2 separate regions of the Homo sapiens genome follow, and region 1 is linked to region 2. The links are contacts of gene promoters, found by promoter capture Hi-C in blood cells and fetal thymus (Javierre and others, 2016). All regions are on one chromosome and are shown on one strand. The core of a region is centred on a gene start or on the middle of the fragment in contact, and the rest is flanking DNA. Distances in the headings are between cores, read along the strand shown. Region 1 holds the start of CYP3A4 (cytochrome P450 family 3 subfamily A member 4). Region 2 holds the start of TRIM4 (tripartite motif containing 4).

What was found. Contacts are between HindIII fragments. The CHiCAGO score rates a contact against its expected background, and 5 or more counts as called.
Region 1: the fragment with the promoter of CYP3A4 here is called in contact with the fragment with the promoter of TRIM4 in region 2 in 2 of 17 cell types (erythroblasts and neutrophils); the score reaches 7.3 in erythroblasts.

What each region holds. Positions count from the first base shown.
Region 1 is chr7:99,782,576-99,785,630 of GRCh38, reverse strand. CYP3A4 (cytochrome P450 family 3 subfamily A member 4) reads left to right here and starts at 1,447. Exons shown (of 13, transcript NM_017460.6): 1 at 1,447-1,620. The coding sequence starts at 1,550. RefSeq lists an enhancer at 1,275-1,298, a silencer at 1,319-1,376 and promoters at 1-1,452, 1-1,497, 1,085-1,499, 195-1,499. The HindIII fragment of the contact is 7,327 bases long and covers 1-3,055 here.
Region 2 is chr7:99,917,856-99,920,788 of GRCh38, reverse strand. TRIM4 (tripartite motif containing 4) reads left to right here and starts at 1,259. Exons shown (of 6, transcript NM_033091.3): 1 at 1,259-1,780. The coding sequence starts at 1,388. LOC101927610 (a long non-coding RNA gene) reads right to left here and starts at 1,186. Exons shown (of 2, transcript XR_001745296.3): 1 at 962-1,186. RefSeq lists enhancers at 888-997, 1,238-1,317, 1,348-1,397 and a silencer at 1,528-1,687. The HindIII fragment of the contact is 3,942 bases long and covers 1-2,933 here.

The DNA.
Region 1 (3,055 bases), core at 198-2,697, 140 kb after region 2:
ATCGCCTATTTCTATTGAGTTTTAAGAACGCTGTGATTTTGTTTGTCATGCAATCCATTCATCAGGCCAGGCAGACACAGAACTTGGGTGTGAGTGACGATAATGAGCTGATATAATTTTCACACCCTCATCACTGAGATCTCTCCCATCAGGAATGGGTCAGGGAGCTCACAGGTGGCAGCAACTGCTATTACAGGCCTCATCTCTACCAGCTCCTGGGGCCTGCCCTCCTCCCATTAGAAAATCCTCCACTTGTCAAAAAGGAAGCCATTTGCTTTGAACTCCAATTCCACCCCCAAGAGGCTGGGACCATCTTATTGGAGTCCTTGATGCTGTGTGACCTGCAGTGACCACTGCCCCATCATTGCTGGCTGAGGTGGTTGGGGTCCATCTGGCTATCTGGGCAGCTGTTCTCTTCTCTCCTTTCTCTCCTGTTTCCAGACATGCAGTATTTCCAGAGAGAAGGGGCCACTCTTTGGCAAAGAACCTGTCTAACTTGCTATCTATGGCAGGACCTTTGAAGGGTTCACAGGAAGCAGCACAAATTGATACTATTCCACCAAGCCATCAGCTCCATCTCATCCATGCCCTGTCTCTCCTTTAGGGGTCCCCTTGCCAACAGAATCACAGAGGACCAGCCTGAAAGTGCAGAGACAGCAGCTGAGGCACAGCCAAGAGCTCTGGCTGTATTAATGACCTAAGAAGTCACCAGAAAGTCAGAAGGGATGACATGCAGAGGCCCAGCAATCTCAGCTAAGTCAACTCCACCAGCCTTTCTAGTTGCCCACTGTGTGTACAGCACCCTGGTAGGGACCAGAGCCATGACAGGGAATAAGACTAGACTATGCCCTTGAGGAGCTCACCTCTGTTCAGGGAAACAGGCGTGGAAACACAATGGTGGTAAAGAGGAAAGAGGACAATAGGATTGCATGAAGGGGATGGAAAGTGCCCAGGGGAGGAAATGGTTACATCTGTGTGAGGAGTTTGGTGAGGAAAGACTCTAAGAGAAGGCTCTGTCTGTCTGGGTTTGGAAGGATGTGTAGGAGTCTTCTAGGGGGCACAGGCACACTCCAGGCATAGGTAAAGATCTGTAGGTGTGGCTTGTTGGGATGAATTTCAAGTATTTTGGAATGAGGACAGCCATAGAGACAAGGGCAGGAGAGAGGCGATTTAATAGATTTTATGCCAATGGCTCCACTTGAGTTTCTGATAAGAACCCAGAACCCTTGGACTCCCCAGTAACATTGATTGAGTTGTTTATGATACCTCATAGAATATGAACTCAAAGGAGGTCAGTGAGTGGTGTGTGTGTGATTCTTTGCCAACTTCCAAGGTGGAGAAGCCTCTTCCAACTGCAGGCAGAGCACAGGTGGCCCTGCTACTGGCTGCAGCTCCAGCCCTGCCTCCTTCTCTAGCATATAAACAATCCAACAGCCTCACTGAATCACTGCTGTGCAGGGCAGGAAAGCTCCATGCACATAGCCCAGCAAAGAGCAACACAGAGCTGAAAGGAAGACTCAGAGGAGAGAGATAAGTAAGGAAAGTAGTGATGGCTCTCATCCCAGACTTGGCCATGGAAACCTGGCTTCTCCTGGCTGTCAGCCTGGTGCTCCTCTATCTGTGAGTAACTGTCCAGGCTCCTCTTCTCTGTTTCCTTGGACTTGGGGTGCTAATCAGGCCTCTCTTTCCCTTATCTGTTTTGAAGATCAAAAAAGATGTTCAGGCCGGGCGTGGTGGCTTACACCTGTAATCCCAGCACTTTGGGAGGCTAAGGCAAGTGGACTGCCTGAGGTCAGGAGTTCAAGACCAGCCTGGCTAACATGGTGAAACTCTGTCTCTACTAAAAATACAAAAATTAGCTGGGCATGGTGGTGCACGCCTGTATTCCCAGCTACTTGGGAGGCTGAGGCAGGAGAATTGCTTGAACCCGGCAGGCGGAGGTTGCAGTGAGCTGAGATCATGCCAGTGCACTTCAGCCTGGGTGACAGAGTGAGGCTGTCTCAAAAAAAAAAAAAAAAAAAAAAGATGTTCAAGGAGCAGTAGCTTAAGTGTTGGATGCTACAAACATATAGAGGTTATTGTAGATCTTATGCAGCTCTATAAAGGAATAAATAAGCATCTTCCCCATCCATCTTTAGTGGCAAGAAGGGTTTTGGGATAGCATTGATTGAGGATGATCTACTTGACAATAGTTTGGACCCAAGGAGGATAAGGAAGGAAAGTAGTGACGGATCTCATTCCAAACTTGGCTGTGGAAACCTGGCTTCTCCTTACTAAACTAGAATTTGGATTTTACATTTTCCCCTTTATGTTGCAGTAGAAGAGGATGAATCCTCTCACTGGTGGGATCCTGCCATCCTAGAGCAGGTAGAGAGAAGAGTCACTCCCCACTGTGGGTAGTGGAGGCTTCTCACATGTCACATTTCACTTCTACCTCAATTTCACTCTTACTAAGATTTGGGAATCATAATGACAGGAAAATAGAAAATATAAACCTCATTTTAATTCTTTCACAGAAAGGTTAGAAATTCAGTGAGTTGTGGCAACATATTTTCCATCTTCTGACCTTTTAACACTAATTGATATGGCTTAAATTCATTCTATTTTAAACCAGATTTTTTTGGAGATAGTCTATTTCCAACATGTTCCTTCTAGGTGACAAATGAGGGCTGTTAGTTCAGTATTTGTTACAATAAATGTGTGTAAAATAACCTCACCTTTCCAGAATCATGTCAGGAATATGAATCTAATGCACAAATGTATAACTCTATGACAAGATTGCATATATCTTTTAAAATATACCTTCCCAACGTTCATTTTAATACCCCTATTTCAAACAAACCTGCTTAGCAGGTTATGTTAAACGCTCAGGGCAGAGGAGTAAGCAAGACTGTGAGCCAGTGATGACAGCAAAAGCATCCAGGTAGGATCAAAATGGAGTAAGAAAATATTCCTCATCCCTCAGGGTAGAACTCCAAAGAGATATTCATGGGTCCTGGCCCCGTAGTGGAGGTCACTCAAAGGACAAACATGTTTGCATCTCATCTGCTTGAAG
Region 2 (2,933 bases), core at 10-2,509:
TCATTAGTTGTCCAATTTAAATGTTTTAGAAATATTCAGTGGAACTTTCATCAATAACCCCCAAACAGATACCTCAAGAACCCCTTTTTCTAATCATTTAATCATACTACTTACTGAGAAAAATTATTATAGGAAAGGCAGTATTTGATATTGGGACATAAAAAGAATGAAAAATCTGTTAAATAAGCAAAAGCCCATTAGCCTGAGGCTGTCTTGGTACTTGAGTTCCCATATAACAAAATACAACCTGACTTAGTATGTAAACGAACTGAAGCCTAACTTACTTTATTTTTTATAACAGCTGGGTTTCAGCCAATCACGGCCGAGCTTCAGCAAATAACAGACAGCCAACTGATCAGACCATGCCCCAATAAGGCAAATGCCTCATCATATCATTGTCAAATAAGGCAGACACCTAGATGTTAGCTAATGAGGTGATTTCTCTACTTTGCTTCCTATAAAAGCTAGCAGGTCATACTGCTGGACAGAGCTCTCTGAACCTCTTTTGGTTCTGAGTGCTGCCCAATTCATGAACTGTTCTTTGTGCAAATAGCTTCTATTAAATTTGTCAGTCCAGAGTTTTTTTTGTTTTAAACAAATATTCACAAGAAAAGGAAGAAAGTGGGAAGAATAAAAAGCAAAGCACCTCAGAAACACAAGATCGAAAATCCACTTAAGGGATATAGATAATTCCCTGAAACAGGTGAGCATATTATTTGTTGAAAGCCTCCATGGATGTTCTTTGGGATAGCAAAATGGTTGCTACTTTTCAAATTGGATACCAAAAAGGCAATGTATCTGCATCTCAGAATCCAAATCATCCCCACGTTAGCCAAACTCCAGGCCTACCAACACAGATCCTTCAAGTCTTCCTGGCCTTCCAGGCCCCTAGGCTGCAGCTCGCCCAGAACTCCTGGGACTCTAAAACTTAAATCGGTCTAACCAGCAGGCGAACACAGACCTGAACCCTCAAACTTGGAAAGAAAGATCATAGGCACCTCCCCGGTTGGCTCCCCCAGGGACCACAACGTCCGGCTCTAACGCCTTGCCCAAGTCCTCTGTAGCTTTCCACAGGCATTTCTGGGTCTCTATAGCTGTTTGGAGGAGCCACTCACCGGTCCCGTCCTGCCCCGCGCCTAGGCCTGAACCAACCCCCTCGCGGTTCCGGCGCGGATACCCAGCAGCTTCCGGTCTTGCGCGCTCAGGCCGGGCAACGTCCGTGCGTTCTTTTTGGGTCCTGAACCCCGGAAGAGAAACTGCGTTGTACCCTTTTACGTGAGGCGGTGACGGCGGTTCGGAAGTCGTCTGGCCTCCCCGCGGCCGCTCGCAGCTTGCTGGCCTCTCCCGCGCCTCACGTCGGACTCCGTCTCCGCGGCAGGGAAGCAGCATGGAAGCTGAGGACATCCAGGAGGAGTTGACCTGCCCCATCTGCCTGGACTATTTCCAGGACCCGGTGTCCATCGAGTGCGGCCACAACTTCTGCCGCGGCTGCCTGCACCGCAACTGGGCGCCGGGCGGCGGCCCGTTCCCCTGCCCCGAATGTCGGCACCCATCGGCGCCCGCCGCGCTGCGACCCAACTGGGCCCTGGCCAGGCTGACTGAGAAGACGCAGCGCCGGCGCCTGGGCCCCGTGCCCCCGGGCCTGTGCGGCCGCCACTGGGAGCCGCTGCGGCTCTTCTGCGAGGACGACCAGCGGCCAGTGTGCCTGGTGTGCAGGGAGTCCCAGGAGCACCAGACTCACGCCATGGCACCCATCGACGAGGCCTTCGAGAGCTACCGGGTGAGCTGGCCGTCGCGGTGACTATGACGGGGCTGTCAGTGTTGCCCGATAAAGTTTACTTAATGCTCCTAAAAGAGCCACGAAGTGGCTGTCATTCCTACTGGAAGCATGAAAAGCCCCTGAAACTCAAAGAAGTTAAGCAAAACACGAATTTCAGAGCTAGGGTTAAAACTGGAATGAGAGGAGGGGAGGTGCAAACCTCAGCAATCATTGTGCAGAATTTTCAATAAACTGGCCCTTGGGGAGCTCATAATAAAGAAAAACATACTGAGAGGGTGTGTGCCGCTGCTGTCCAATAGAAACCACATATGTAATTTAAAATCTTTCTGGTAAGATAAGGAAACGAGGTGACGTTAATTGTAATAATATATTTTATTTAATCTGATTACCCCAAATATTCAAAGCTGAGATGAAAATTATCAATGAGATTTTTTTTTTTTTTCTGAGATGGAGTCTCACTTTATTGCCCAGGCTGGAGCACAGTGGCGTGATCTTGGCTCACTGCAACCTCCTCCTCCGGGGTTCAAGCAGTTCTCCTGCCTCAGCCTCCCGAGTAGCTGGGATTACAGGCACACGCCACCACACCCGGTTAATTTTTGTTTTTTAGTATAGAGGGGTTTCACCATCTTGGCCAGGCTGGTCTCGAACTGCTGACCTCAAGTGATCTGCCCCGCTTGGCCTCCCATAGTGCTGGGATTAAGGTGTGAGTCACCACGCCCGGCCTCAATGAGATATTTTATACTCCTTTTTCATAATAGGTCTGAAATTGGTGTGTATTTTACATTTACAACACATAGCAGTTTGGAATATCCACGTTTCAGGTGCTTGTATGGCTAAATGGATACTGTATTGGACAGTGCCTGTCTGTATCTGTAAATGTCATAGACAGCTGATGATTTGGGAAAAGCCTAGCTTGTAATGATGAGGCTGGGTTTTGTTACTAGCTTCCTTCATCAGTTGGGAAAATCCTGTAACATTTGAATTTGGGGATTATCTGTCCTATCTCATGGGTTAAGAAGCTCCGGTTGAATAAATCACTTTACCTTACTCTGCTTCAGCCATACTGGCTTTCTTGCTTTTGTTTCAAGTCTGTTCTCTTTCTCTACCCACATCTATCCTTTAGATCCTTTTAGCTTTTAGCTTGAAGACCTTC